Linked DNA regions of Homo sapiens: regions 1, 2, 3 and 4 are each linked to region 5. The links are contacts of gene promoters, found by promoter capture Hi-C in blood cells and fetal thymus (Javierre and others, 2016). All regions are on one chromosome and are shown on one strand. Each heading gives the region's core, a stretch centred on a gene start or on the middle of the fragment in contact. The rest is flanking DNA. Distances are from core to core; before and after follow the strand shown. Region 1 overlaps RCC2 (regulator of chromosome condensation 2). Region 2 has its middle 4.3 kb from the start of RCC2. Region 3 overlaps ARHGEF10L (Rho guanine nucleotide exchange factor 10 like). Region 4 holds the start of NBPF1 (NBPF member 1). Region 5 holds the start of PADI2 (peptidyl arginine deiminase 2).

The links. Contacts are between HindIII fragments. The CHiCAGO score rates a contact against its expected background, and 5 or more counts as called.
Region 1: a fragment that was not itself captured here is called in contact with the fragment with the promoter of PADI2 in region 5 in 8 of 17 cell types (neutrophils, M0 macrophages, M2 macrophages and 5 more); the score reaches 12.0 in neutrophils.
Region 2: a contact is called between a fragment that was not itself captured here and the fragment with the promoter of PADI2 in region 5, in 2 of 17 cell types (neutrophils and monocytes). The highest score is 14.4, in neutrophils.
Region 3: a fragment that was not itself captured here is called in contact with the fragment with the promoter of PADI2 in region 5 in 1 of 17 cell types (monocytes); the score reaches 6.2 in monocytes.
Region 4: a contact is called between a fragment that was not itself captured here and the fragment with the promoter of PADI2 in region 5, in 1 of 17 cell types (neutrophils). The highest score is 8.9, in neutrophils.

Annotation. Positions count from the first base shown.
Region 1 is chr1:17,421,725-17,424,424 of GRCh38, reverse strand. It overlaps RCC2 (regulator of chromosome condensation 2), which reads left to right. Exons shown (of 13, transcript NM_018715.4): 5 at 1,589-1,720; 6 at 2,134-2,222. Among named protein-coding and RNA genes, the nearest start is that of RCC2, 17 kb to the left of the region's middle. RefSeq lists an enhancer at 1,620-2,374. The HindIII fragment of the contact is 4,272 bases long and covers 1-2,700 here.
Region 2 is chr1:17,442,622-17,445,321 of GRCh38, reverse strand. No RefSeq gene overlaps it. Among named protein-coding and RNA genes, the nearest start is that of RCC2, 4.3 kb to the right of the region's middle. The HindIII fragment of the contact is 6,214 bases long and covers 1-2,700 here.
Region 3 is chr1:17,576,704-17,579,403 of GRCh38, reverse strand. All of the region lies in intron 1 of ARHGEF10L (Rho guanine nucleotide exchange factor 10 like), which reads right to left. Among named protein-coding and RNA genes, the nearest start is that of ARHGEF10L, 38 kb to the right of the region's middle. The HindIII fragment of the contact is 5,529 bases long and covers 1-2,700 here.
Region 4 is chr1:16,611,976-16,614,858 of GRCh38, reverse strand. NBPF1 (NBPF member 1) reads left to right here and starts at 1,295. Exons shown (of 18, transcript NM_001405701.2): 1 at 1,295-1,521. RefSeq lists an enhancer at 494-1,451. The HindIII fragment of the contact is 6,693 bases long and covers 1-2,883 here.
Region 5 is chr1:17,118,173-17,120,872 of GRCh38, reverse strand. It overlaps PADI2 (peptidyl arginine deiminase 2), which reads left to right and starts at 1,422. Exons shown (of 16, transcript NM_007365.3): 1 at 1,422-1,593. The coding sequence starts at 1,502. RefSeq lists an enhancer at 297-831 and a silencer at 1,403-1,612. The HindIII fragment of the contact is 8,283 bases long and covers 1-2,700 here.

The DNA.
Region 1 (2,700 bases), core at 52-2,551, 300 kb before region 5:
GAACACAGCCTTTTATGTCAGTGTTCCAAACTTAAAATACCTCAGTTCTGATCTCTCGCTGAGCTTCACTTGCGTGGTGGCTCTGAAAGCGCCCTCAGTTCTGACCCTGTGGGCAGGGACAATGTATGTCCCGCCATCAAGACGTGTGATCCCCGAGCAGACAGTGCAGTTGGTGAGGACAGGGTTGGAAGGTGTCACAGGCCCACTGCTCGCCACTCTAGAAGGCAGGGGGCGGCGTCTGGTGTGAGTAGAGTACCACGGGAGGGTGGCTGACGCATTGCTCATGTGGGGTCTCCATCTGTGGCCCGCTCACCCTGTCCTGCCGCATCTCAGTCCACTGAGACTTGCACTTGTTGCTCTGTATTCACATGCCTTTCACATGAACTTGGGCAGCTCCCATTGGAAGCTGGTGTATCTGCCTCTCCTGCTCGAGTGCCAGTGCTGGCCCTTCAGCCCGCCGTTCTTTAATTAGAGCGAGTCAGAGGCTGGTTTCCCTTCGTCGCAATTCCTTCTGTAGTCAGAGGCTGCTCCTGCAAGCCTTCTCCAGGACAGCTGGAACTCATCTTAATGGCTCTGCTGTCTGCCTTTATCACAACCTAAGGGTGAAAAGTTCATTGCTGGAGAAGGTTGCAAAACCCCCTAGAATTGCCCTGACTTCTCACCACTGTAAGATCTCCGTCAGTTTCCCCACGTCAGGTTACATGTGTGGTTTTTCTCTTATCGGGAGGGATCCGAGAGTGGCCGGTTGAATTTTTGTTTTGGAACTTGGTAGTTTGTGTTGAAACCTAGATGCGGTGTAGGGGCTCCCAGCCCTCCTTTTGGCCCACCCAACTTCCACGTCTGTTTGGAGTTGAATTTGGTTCTGCAGAGGACTTGGGGGTAGGGGTTGGCCCTCAGGCCTGCCTTCCGCTGGAATTCACAGATACAGGGCCTTGGTCGCACCTGCAGCAGTCCTGGAGGTGGGGCTGGGCGTGTTGTGTTGAGGGTGGATCTGTGCTTTGTCACCAGGGTTCCTGTGGCTGAGAGTCCTTGAGGGGCGATCCCTAGGGGTGGGATTGGCACTGTTATGTGAGCACCATTTACAGGGTAGAAAAAGGAAGAGAAATATTGGGCAGACACCAAATGGTCCTCAGTGGATGCCCAGAGCACCAAAGTGATTAAACTCTGGTGAGCCAGGTGTCAAAATGGGGTGCTGTCTTAAAATACATCTCAGAGGGTAGGGACGGGGTGGTTGTCTTGCAGGCACTCTAAGTGGGAACGGCGTGTTTCTGCGAGCATGCCCGCCTGTGCATGGTGTCCCTACCACACTGAGCCTCTCATTTCCCTTTGTAGCAGAGACGTGGGAGGTGTGCACGGGTGGTCCCGCTGCTGCCCCAGGGAAGGAGGTCCGGGGAGCTGCAGCAGGCGCCATTCCAGCGGGCAGAGGGCCGGGGCGTTCTTTGCTCTGGATCTTGGCTGTTGGGAATTTGGAGGGTACCTTCCAGAGACAGATGGGCATCATTTGAGAGTGTGTTTGTACTCGCCTTCTCCTGGTGGTGCCGCCTGGACCACCCTCTCTCTTTTCTACTTTCTCTCATGTGATCTGCAGGTCGAAATGAGAAGGGGCAGCTGGGACATGGTGACACCAAGAGAGTAGAAGCCCCTAGACTCATCGAGGGTCTTAGCCACGAAGTGATTGTGTCTGCAGCATGTGGGCGGAACCACACCTTGGCCTTGACGGGTAAGGAGGTGGCTGCTGGTGTCTCCTCTCAGTTTGGCAAGAGGCCAGGTGGTCTGCCTTGGGGATGGGGCGTGGGGTGGTGGAGTTCCCCTTGTGACTCTTGGTCAGGATCAGAAAGAGGCCCTGAGAACCTTGGCATGGAGTGGCTTCTTGAGGGCATTGGGAGCCTCCCCAGTGGCCATAGGAGGCCCATCTGGGAGTAGGAGACGCTGCCCTCTGTTTCTCTGCACACCCAGTTTCTGATGTGAAATGGCTTTGCTGTGAAGCGTCTGCACTGCCAGCTTTTGGGCAGTCTCACTTGCCTTCTGCCTGGCAAATGAGCTGTTTTTATTATTTTGATGCCTTTGATTCTAAATCTAGTTCAAAACATTCACCATTATCTTCCCTTTTGTGATATTTTTCCTTTCTTCCAGAAACGGGCTCCGTGTTTGCGTTTGGGGAAAACAAGATGGGGCAGCTGGGCCTTGGCAACCAGACAGACGCTGTTCCCAGCCCCGCGCAGGTGACCCCTCCTCAGCTCCGGCTCCATGGCTTTTTGTTTCTCTTTACTTTTGTGTTTGATTTTCTAAGGTGGGGTCTCCGTTTGAGTTAATTTACCCCTTGTAAAAACAGGGTCTGGATGTTTAGTTACATGCTGTAGAGTTTTTTTGTTTGTTTTTTTGTTTTTTGTTTTTTTTTGAGAACGGAGTTTCACTCTTTTTGCCCAGGCTGGAGTGCAATGGCGCAATCTCGGCTCACTGCAACCTCCGCCTCCCGGGTTCAAGTGATTCCCCGGCCTCAGCCTCTGGAGTAGCTGGGATTACAGGCATGTGCCACCACACCTGGCTAATTTTGTATTTTTAGTAGAGACGGGGTTTCTCCATGTTGGTCAGGCTGGTCTGGAACTCCTGACCTCAGGTGATCCACCCACCTCGGCCTCCCAAAGTACTGGGATTACAGGTGTGAGCCACTGCACACAGCCTTGCTATAGTTTTTAAAAC
Region 2 (2,700 bases), core at 64-2,563, 320 kb before region 5:
TATTTTTAGTAGAGACGGGGTTTCACCGTGTTAGCCAGGATGGTCTCGATCTCTTGACCTCGTGATCCACCCTCCTCGGCCTCCCAAAATGTTGGGATTACAGGCGTGAGCCACTGCGCCCAGCTAGATGCATCTTAAAGTATGAGAAACCACCTTTTGAATGGCTTCCACAGGGTATGGAAAAGTGGTATGATTTCAGTAGCACTTCTCATACTTTTTTTTTTTTTGAGATGGAGTTTCGCTCTTGTTGCCCAGGCTGGAGTGCAATGGCGCAATCTCCGCTCACCACGCCCGGCTAATTTTTAGTAGAGACGGGGTTTCTCCATGTTGGTCAGGCTGGTCTCGAACTCCTGACCTCAGGTGATCTGCCCGCCTCAGCCTCCCAAAGTGCTGGGATTATAGGTGTGAGCTACCATGCCTGGCTGCACCTCTCATACTTTAAGATGCATAAAAATCACCTGTTAAAAATGCACATTCTGGGCCGGGTGTGATGGCTCACGCCTGTAATTCCAGCACTTTGGGAGGTCGAGGTGGGTGGATCACCTGAGGTCAGGAGTTCGAGACCAGCCTGGCCAACATGGCAAAACCCCGTCTCTACTAAAAATACAAAAAATTAGCTGGGTGTGGTGGCAGGTGCCTGTAATCCCAGCTATTTGTGAGGATGAGGCAGGAGAATCGCTTGAACTGGGAGGTGGAGGTTGCAGTGAGCCCAAATTGCGCTACTGCACTCCAGCCTGGGCAACAAGAGGGAAACTCCAACTCAAAAAAAAAAAAAAAAAAAAAAAACACATTCTGATTCAGTAGGTCTGGGGGCTGAACCTGAGATTCAGTGTTTATTTTTATTTTTTTGAGACAGGGTCTCACTCTGTCACCTAAGCTGGAGTGCAATGGCATGATCATGGCTCACAGCAGCCTGGACTTCCCAGGCTCTGGCGATTTTCCCACCTCAGCCTCCAAAGTAGCTGGGACTACAGGTTTGCGTCACCACACCTGACTAATTTTTTTCTTTTCTTTTCTTTTATTTGAGAGAAGTCTCACTCTTATCCCCCAGGTTTGAGTGCAATGGCTCGATCTTGGCTCACTGCAACCTCCGCCTCCCGGGTTCAAACGATTCTCCTGCCTCTGCCTCCCAAGTAACTGGGATTAAGTTGCCTGCCACCACGCCCGGCTAATTTTTGTATATTTTAGCAGAGACGGGAGTTTCACCATGTTGGCCAGGCTGGTTTCGAACTCCTGACCTCAAGTGATCTGCCCGCCTCGGCCTCCCAAAGTGCTGGGATTACAGGCGTGAGCCACTGCGCCTGGCCGCGGCTGGCTAATTTTTTTCTAATTTTTGTAGAGATGGGGTCTCACCATGTTGTCCAGGCTGGTCTCCAACTCCTGGGCTCAAGCAATCGTCCTGCCTCAGCCTCCCAAAGTGCTGGGATTACAGGCGTGTACCACCACGCCTGGCCAGATTCTGTGTTTCTGACAATCCTCCTACTGATGCAGATGCCTGTACACTTCCTGGCTATCCTATCTGCCAGCTGTGTGGCCTCAGGAGGCCTCAGCATCTCCCTGGGCTTCAGTTCTTCCGCTGGATATTATTTAGATGAACAAACATATATTGACAGCTTACTACACGCCGGGCTGCTCTGGGTGCTTGCTAGAAAAACAAAGATGAAGAAGCCACAAGCCAAGCCCAGGCATGCCTCACAGACAGAGAACTTAAAGGTCCAACTACAATATTTAAAGACTCTGCGTTTGAAAATTTCATGACTCATTGGCAGAAATAGGACGACCGGATCTGCATCTCCCAGAAAACATCTCTCCAAACACTATGACAGGGATTCCCCGCTGACTACTGTCCTCAGAATCAGGGAATACGAAATCCAGAAGTAACCTCAAGAGAAATTTAGCCCAAACTCTATCTTGCCATTTTACAGAGAGGAGAAACTAGAGAACAGATGCAGAAAGAGTGGGGTCTGGAGGAAATTACTGGTTTTCCAGCTATGCTTTCGAAGGCTGTGATGTCCAACAGGAATAACATATGAGCTACAAAAAACTTAATATGTAATATTAAATTTTGTGGTAGTCACATTGAAAAGAGTAAAAAGAAGCCAGGCACAGTGACACATGCCTATAATCCTAGCACTGTGGGAGGCCAAGGCAAAAGGATTGCTTGAGGTCAGGAGTTTGAGACCAGCCTGGGGAACATAGTGAGACCTTGTCTCCACAAAAAAATTTTAAAAATTAGCTGGGCGTGGAGGTGCACGTCTACAGTCTCAGCTACTAGGGTGGCTGAGGCAGGAGAACTGTTTGACCCCAGGAGGTCGAGGCTGTAGTGAGCCAAGATGGCGCCACTACAGTCCAGCCTAGGTGACAGAGTGAGACCCAGTTTCCAAAAAAAAAAAAAGAGAAAGAATCGTTTCCATTGGTTAGCGCATCACTCCCAGGATCACTGGTTTCATTTTTATAGACACTGGATCAGAAAATTAATCTTTCAAGTACAGGTGTAGCTTTCTGTAGCCAAGTTGAATAGAATTACACTTCTGAGGCTGGGCACAGTGGCTCACGCCTGTAATCCTAGCACTTTGGGAGGCGAAGGCGGGCAAATCACGAGGTCAGAAGTTCAAGACCAGCCTGGCCAACATGGTGAAACCCCGTCTCTACTAAAAATACAAAATTAGCTAGGCGTGGTGGTATGCGCCTGTAATCCCA
Region 3 (2,700 bases), core at 10-2,509, 460 kb before region 5:
CTGTGCTTAGAAGCAGCTACTACACTCTAGCACCTTTCAAGACTCAAACGATACAACAGGTAGACAATGAAAAGTTAGTCTCCGAGCCGGGCACAGTGTCTCACGCCTGTATCTCAGCACTTTGGGAGGCTGAGGTGGGCGGATCACTTCAGGTCAGGAGTTCGAGACCAGCCTGGCCAACGTGGTGAAACTCCATCTCTACTAAAAATACAAAAATTAGCTGGGCATGGTGGCACATGCCTTTAATCCCAGCTACTCAGTAGGCTGAGGCAGGAGAATCACTTGAACGTGGGAGGCGGAGGTTGCAGTGAGCCAAGACCGTGCCACCGCACTCCAGTCTGGGAAACAGAGCAAGACTCTGTCTCAAAAAATTAAAAAAAAAAAAGTTAGTCAACCTCCCACCCTGGTTGCCCTAATCCCCCAGTCCCCCAGAAGAGATGACTGTTACTGACTTCTCAAGAATCCTTCCAGAACTCTCCCATGCATGGGCCAACTTGCATATCTGCAGATATGCCTTGTTTCATACAGAAGGAGCACACAGCACTCACAGTGCTGCAACTGCCTTTTTAACCTAAATCTCAGTGATGATTTCAGAATAGTACTAATACATAGAAATCAACCCCACTTTTTTTAACAGCTGCATAGTAGGTTTGGTTTTGTTTTGAGGTAGGTGTTTTTTGTGGGGGTATAATTTATATAGCCCCCATCGATAGGTACTGAGGCTGCTTTGGTCTCGATTTCCCAGGTTGGAGTGCAGTGGCACAATCATGGCTCACTGTAGCCTGGAACTCCTGGGTCAAGTGATCCTCTCGCCTCAGCCTCCCCAGTAGCTGGGACTACAGGCACACACCACCATGCCTGGCTAATTTTTTAAAATTTTTTCTAGAGATAGGGTCTTACTCTGTTGCCCAGGCTGGTCCCAAACTCCTGGGCTCAAGCCATCCTCCCTTGTTGACCTCAACAAGTGCTGGGATCACAGATGTGAACCCTGACACCTGCCTGCATTTCTCACTGTGACTGATGATACCAGTTACTCTCTGCTAAGCGTGTGACTGTGCCTTTTAGACCCACGCTGAAAACTCTCAGGACTAAACTTTTACTTCAGCAAAGGATTTTGGAAAACAAACCTGTAGCTGCACGGCACTCCTGCTACAGGGCCCCCTCCCAGTGGGCTCATTCAAAACCTCTGAGGTCTGCTCAGCCTTTCTCTGAGGGCTCTGCTGCCCCAAGAGTTCCAGGAGGGAAGCAGCAGAAAGACCTATACCCATTTTACAGAAGGAAAAAGGGAGGCACTTTGCCCAGCCTCCTGTCCAAATTGCTCCTTAAATACAATTTGATGATGATACAGAAAGAGGCTGCTACTCTACCCTGGGGCCAAAACCCAGGATCCTTCCCTTCCAGGGCAGAAAGTCCAATGTCCTCCCCTTTCTTCACCCTTTGGGACTGATTCCTGCCCTCCCCTCCAAAGCCCAAGGCTTTCCCTAGAAAGGAAGAGAGACACCAACATGTATGGAGCCTGACACTTTATTAGCATTATTCTATCTAATTCTCGTAACACCCCAGCTTACGGATGAGGAAACAGAGGCTCAGAGAAGCAAATATTTGCCCCAGGTCACAGAAGCAAGAGGACAAGGTGACCACACTAGGATTCCAGCCAGTGAGCACTGACCCTAAAGCCTAATCTCAATCCTCTGATCGCACTGCCTCCCTAGCCTTTGGGGCTGGAATCTGGAAGGTGTTTGCTACAGGCTAATGCGGGGCTCTGAAGTGTCGGGACGAGGACGCAGCCCAGCAAGCCCTGCCCATACCCATAGGCCTGTGGCCACCATTTTGCACACACAGGCTGTTAGTCTCAGAAGGATGTGGACAAGGGAGTGGGGATGGCTCACAGCAGCCCCCTGCCACCACCACAGATCCTCACGGGGTTAGAAAAGAGTTCAGGTTCCCCAATACCACCTGGGTTCCACTCAGCAGCTATGAGACCTTGGATGAGTTAATCCTATCTCTGGGCCTCAGTTTACTCATCTGCAAAATGGGGATTAAAAAGTACCCACTTCAGGCCAGTCATGGTGGCTCATGCCTGTAATCCCAGCACTTTGGGAGGCCGGGGCAGGCAGATCACTTGAGGTCAGGAGTTCGAAACCAGCCTGGCCAACATGGTGAAACCCCATCTCTACTAAAAATACAAAAAATTAGCCAGCCGTGGTGGCACATGCCTGTAGTCCCAGCTACTCGAGAAGCTGAAGCAGGAGAATCACTTGAACCTGGGAGGTGGATGTTGCAGTGAGCCAAGATCACACCACTGCCACTCCAGCCTAGGCGACAGAGCAAGACTGTCTCAAAAATAAATAAATAAATAAACAATAACCATTCTCATCTTTAAAAAGAGAACTAATACAAAAGCATGGCATGTCAGAACCAGAAAGTAGCTCCAAGAGGGCAGTGTTGCTCTTGCTTTACAGATGTGGAAACTGAGTCCAAAGGAGGAGGGCACTGCCCACAGCACGGTGACTCTCCAGGCGGTGACACCGAAGGCCACGTTTAGAGGATAGGATTTGGTGCCGGGATGATTCAGGTTCAAATCCCAGCTCTGCCACTTGCCACAGCAGCAGTGAATTCCTTTCTCACTGGGGCGGTGGGAGTAAGACCAGCACCTGCTTCCTGAGCGTCCTGTGCTGATGAAATGAGGACCCAGCAGTG
Region 4 (2,883 bases), core at 66-2,565, 510 kb after region 5:
GAGACTACAGCTGTTCTCAGAAGAATAGGGGTTAGAAGAACTTTCCAGGCACAGAGCAAAGCATGAGCAAAAGCTCTGTGGAGGCCAGGAAGCTGGTAAATAGGGAATAAAAGAGGCCAGTTTGGCTGGAGCAGAGAGAGCAGAACAGAATTGGTCTGAGTAGTGAGAAGAGATGAAGAAGTGGGCAAGGCGCCTGGCCATTCGGGGCTTGGTTAGTTAGGAGGTTTTGTCTAAGAGAATGGGAAGGTGTTTAAGTGCTTTAGGCTGGGAAGTGACACGGTCACATTATATTTTGGAAAAGCCACTCTGCCTGTTGTGTTGAGATTAGAGAGGCGATAAAGGGGATATGGGTAAACCACAAGAAGACTAGGTCAGTAGTCCCTCGACCCTCACTCCCCAGGTGAAGGCAGCCTAGACTAGGGTGGTGACGGAGGAGATAGAAGAGGACAGATTCAAGGAAAATTTGGAAGGTAAAAACCAGTAGGATTTGCTGACGGATGGAGTATAGGAGGGGAGAGGTAGATTATCAGGGATGTATCTTAGTTTTCTTATACAAGATAGATTCAGTTGCAATGAAATTGTTAACTGAAATTGACTTTAAATAATGGCATGACCTAAAGTTATGCAAACATTTGCCTTAGATAAAATATCAAGTTTTCAAAGTTTTTAGCTGGGTGGACGGCATGGCTTTACTTCCTATTTCTTGGTATTCTAATCCTGTTGAAAAAAAAAGTTTTTCTTTTTCTCAAAGGCTTATTTCAGTGGAAGCCCATCTGCAAAATCTGTTAATAAATTTAAATTAGAAAATAACTACAAGTGCCATTGACACATTGGTTATTCTTTTTGAGAGTGACCTAAGGCCACCTCTGGGAGAGCTGGGGGCTCTTCTGAAGCCTGCCCGACTGCACCGCGTGCCCGTGCCTGGAAGTCAGATTCGGGGCGGTGCGGCAGCGCGAGGCCTGCAGTCCTAAGCGCGGGGTCGCTCCAGCCCCAGAGGGGGTGTGTCTCCTGCCTCTTCAACCTGGCAGGGGCTGTTCAAGTGGCCGGGGAAACCAGCGATTTGGAGGGTCGAGGGCTGGTGCTTTGAAAGACAGGCGGAGGGGAGAGAGGGATTTCCCCGTCCCCGCTGCACTCGGTCCTTCCCCTGGGTTACTCCTTTCCTCCGCCTGCGCGGCCCCTAACCTGCTCGAACCCGTTGTGCAGAAGAGGCCGCCGGGTCCCTTTAAGGCCCCGCCGCGCCTGCGCCTTGGGTTATCCTGACACGCCCATCGGGATCCTGAGGAGCCAGTGGGCTGCAGGCGCAGGCGCAGGCGAGGGGCTGGGTGGCGGTTGAGACAGCGGCGGTACTGGGAGGCGTAGGTGAGGGTCGCGAGGCTGCCCGAGCTTCTGAGCGAGCGCGGTGCTTTTGGGAACGCGGGACGGGCGATCTGCGGCGCCAGGAGCTGGGCCGAGGCGCGGCGGCGCGGCTGCCGGCTGCCCTGTGAATGGGAAGTTACGCGAAGTCCACCCAGCGTTTCTGAGGTGAGGGCGCCGCGCCAGGCTGGGCGGGCGGTGAATCCGGGACCCGCGGGCGCACAGCTGGGTCGAGGCGCGGCCGTGGCAAGTTTTGTTGCGCGAGCGCGGGGGCGGGTGGGGGCTGTGGGGGGTCGTGCACCGCCGGGGCCTGAGTTCCCCGCGCTGGATTCTTCGCCTGCCGCTGCCGCCCGCAGCCCAACTCTCGTGGGCGCTGGGGAAGAAACTCGCTGGCGGGTGTTCTGTGGCATCCCAGGGGGTGGAGGGACGGAGCAGCTTCGGGGGCACGTCCTCCTATATCCTGTAGAGGACACTGACCCCGCACCCCACCCTCCAGGCCAGAAATCCGTTCCCTCTGCGGACCTGAGAGGCGAGCGCGCTCGCGCCCCTGACTTGCAAAGTTGGGGTCTTTACTGGCCTCCGGGCTTCTGCTCCTGGCGGTGTCTCCAGGCTGGTGATGGGCAAGCCAGGTGTGCCAGCTCCAGGATGCACATGAGCAGCATTTGTAGCCATCACTGAATCACCTCCTGACTAGCGGGGCAAGCCTCAAATGAACCGCAGGATTTCGGGTAGATTGGATTGTGGGGTTGCTGTTTGCACTCCAAAGAGTTGCTGTGATTTCCCTGCGTCTGGCTGGCTGGCTGGCTTCTTAGATCATCTCATGTGGCGTCCTTTCAGCGGAGAGTTAACCAAGACGTTTGGCCTGGCTTCCTTGTTTTCCTCCTATCTTTTGCTTAGAGCTGCTTTCGAAAAGAAGTCTTTTCTGGCAGTGGTATCTTTTCTTTGGGTTACAGTGTTGTTCATCCTTTCTTTGCCAAAAGAATGAATCCCAGTGCTTCAGGAAGTTAAAGAAAAGATCTGCTGGTAGTGTTCTGAGCTGATATGCGTTAGTAGCTTTTTGTTTTTAAATTCTATTGGTAAAATTTCACTAGTGAACCAGAAGCTACTTTTTCTATTCTGAAATGCTAGCTTTAAGATTTCTGAGAACTTTGCGTCAAAGAAATCTTGGAAAAGTTACTGAAGTATACAGAAGTTCACAATTTTACATGTGCAGGTGGCCCGGGCGCAGTGATCACACCTGTAATCCCAGCACTTTGGGACGCCAAGGTGGGTAGATCACTTGAGCCCAGGATTTCCAGACCAGCCTGGGCAATGTGGCAAAACCCTTTCTCTACTAAAAATACAGAAGTTAGCTGTGTGTGGTGGCGTGTGCCTGTAGTCCCAGCTACCCGGTAGGCTGAGTTGGGAGGATCACCAGAGCCCGGGAGGTTGAGATTGCAGTGAGCCGTGATCATGGCAGTGCACTCCGACCTGGATGGCAGAGTGAGACCCTGTCTCAAAAAAAAAAAAAAAAAAGTAATGAATTTTTAC
Region 5 (2,700 bases), core at 173-2,672:
GGAGGCGGAGGTTGCAATGAGCTGAGATGGCGCCATTGTACTCCAGCCTGGGTAACAAGAGGAAAACTCTGTCTCAAAAAAAAAAAAAAAAAACAGTTACTGGCCTCTCCCTGGGTCTGTGAGCTGTGCCTTTGGGGGACAAATGACCTCCTGGCTAAAACTCGGGCCTTCCCTCTTCCCCACTCACATTCCTCCCAAATCCCTGCCACTCAGAAGCAGCTGGGCTCTTCACCACCTCCTAATTTGGGCCGCCTCAGGGAGAAGGTTGGAGTCCAAGGGCTGGGTATATCAGCACTGGGCACTTGTGGGCCTCACCCCTCTTGTCTGGGGGCACCCGTTCCTGGAGCTCCATCTTCCATCAGCTCTAACTCCTTCCCAAACACACATCCCCTCCGCCCCACTCCTTCCCTCCCACGGCCTCTGCCCACCCCCCCTCAGTTTCTGTCCTCACCTACCAAAGACCACTTCCTCACACAGGGCTGATGTATGTGTCTGAACAGCACTCCCACTGGGTCCCAGGGGAAGGGCTGGGACATGGGAGGGGCTGGCCGAGGCCCACACTGATTGTCATCCTACATCTCAGCCTCTGTGAGACACACGATGACCTCTGGGTGGCACCCCCCTTCCCTTGGTGGCCCAGGCCAGAACCGGGGCCCTAATCCTTACCCCTCTCCTCTCCCTCCACCCACACATCCTATCAGTCACCAGGTGCCACCAAAATCCCAGTCCCTAAGCAGTGGCCGGGTCAGTCCCCACCTCTCCAGCTCTGGCCACAGCCAGGGGCTTCCTTGCCCCTCCCCAGCCCAGAATGACCCATTTCACGAGCACACCCGACCACGGCTCGCGGAGACAACCACTCCAGGCTCCCATCTCCCACCCTCCAATGCCTTGGCTTGGCGTCCTGGTCTCCCTCAGCTGCCGGGTTCCCCATCCCCACCGCTTCCCGTTTTCTCTATGGTGAGGTTCATCTGACTGTTGGGGGATGGGGGTACCGGGCTGCACCCGGCTTTGCACAGGCAGCTCCCTCTCCTCGCCTTTAATTTGCAAACGCCTCCTTTAAGAAGGTTCCAGGATCGTCTTCTCTGGGAAGGCTTCCTGGCCCCCAGGCTGGGTTAGGGCACCCTCTTTGTGTTCCCACATTTGCATTTTCAGCCCCACTGGGCTGGGGCGTCCGGAGGGGAGCTAGGGCCCTCCAACACCTGGGCGCCCACCGAAGGTTTGTCGAATGAAAGAATGACAATCCAACCATGGAAAGCACAAAACTGGTCCCTGATGACTTCGCCACGACCTCAGCGGGGCGGGACGAGTTAGGGGCGGGACCACGCTTGACGGACAGGCCCGCAGCCCACTGCGAGAGGACTGGGGCGGGCCGCCCCGCCCACCGGCCGCTGGATAAGGCTGCGCGCGGGGCCGTGGGGCGCAGGCTGCTGGAGAAGGCGCACCTGCTGCAGGTGCTCCCGGCCGCCCCGGACCAGCGAGCGCGGGCACTGCGGCGGGGAGGATGCTGCGCGAGCGGACCGTGCGGCTGCAGTACGGGAGCCGCGTGGAGGCGGTGTACGTGCTGGGCACCTACCTCTGGACCGATGTCTACAGGTGAGCCGGCCCACCGTGATGCCCGGGCCGAGATCTCGAGCCCAGAAATCCTGAGACGCGCTCAGACTCGGGGACGTGGACAGCCTTTGTCCAGCCCGAGTTGTCCCTCATCCCGAGCCCCCGAGCCCAGAAATCCTAAGAATCTCATCCAGAAACCTGACAACCCCCGAACCTTGTGTCCACCTTCCAGAAACCCTGAGACTCTCCCAGACCCCCTAACACAGCCTCAGCCCCAGCTCCCTCACAGACCCTCCCTTTCACCCGTAACCCTCCGTCTGGCCCTCTCCAGTTCTCCTCCCGGGGGACCTCACACCCCTTCAGCTTCCCTGCCGTCCTCTCCCCTTTCACTTCCCCTCCGCACCTCACTTCCCCTCGGACCCACCTCAACCCAGCCCCTCTCCTGCTTCCCACTCCCAGTTCAGCGGAGCTTCCGCGGAGACTTGCCGGGGACTGGGGCAGGACCCGAAGGGAGCTGCCCTGAGGCTGAATCCGGCCCTGGAGGTTACTCAGGCTCCGATTTCGCCCTGTGGGGGCTGCTGGTGGTTGCTTGTCCCCAGGCACTGGCCCTGAGCTCCGTGTCCCCAGATACCTTCCCCTGACTTCATTCTGAGACCACAGAGGGACAATATTCTACCCAGCTGACGACGGGGACTTGGGGTGTATAGCGGGGTACTTTGTTGGAAAAGGATCCTGATTCAGAGTTCTGCTCCCTCCCCTTCTCTCTGTCCAAGAACTTGGTAGAGTGCGGGATGTCCGAGACAGCTGAAGGTAGGGTAGGGCCCTACCACTCCCCCCGCAATCCCAGAAAGCAGCCAAGTCCAATGATCTGTCTCCCTGAGTAATGGGACGGGGCCTTGGAAAGGTGTGGCTGGTGTGAATGAAAGGGTGGGGTTATGCTGGGGTTTGATCTGCCCCCTCTATTCCAAGCATTTAAAACCTCCCCATTGCTAGGGTTGGAGGGGTCAGTGCTGGGGGCAGGGAGCATGCAGGACTCTGAGGTGGGACCCTGTGCTGACACCGGATGAGTCCCCTATCCTCTCTGCCTCAAGCTGAACTCACACGGAGGCACCATCGTGGTTTATGGCTCTCAAATCATCCTGACACCTG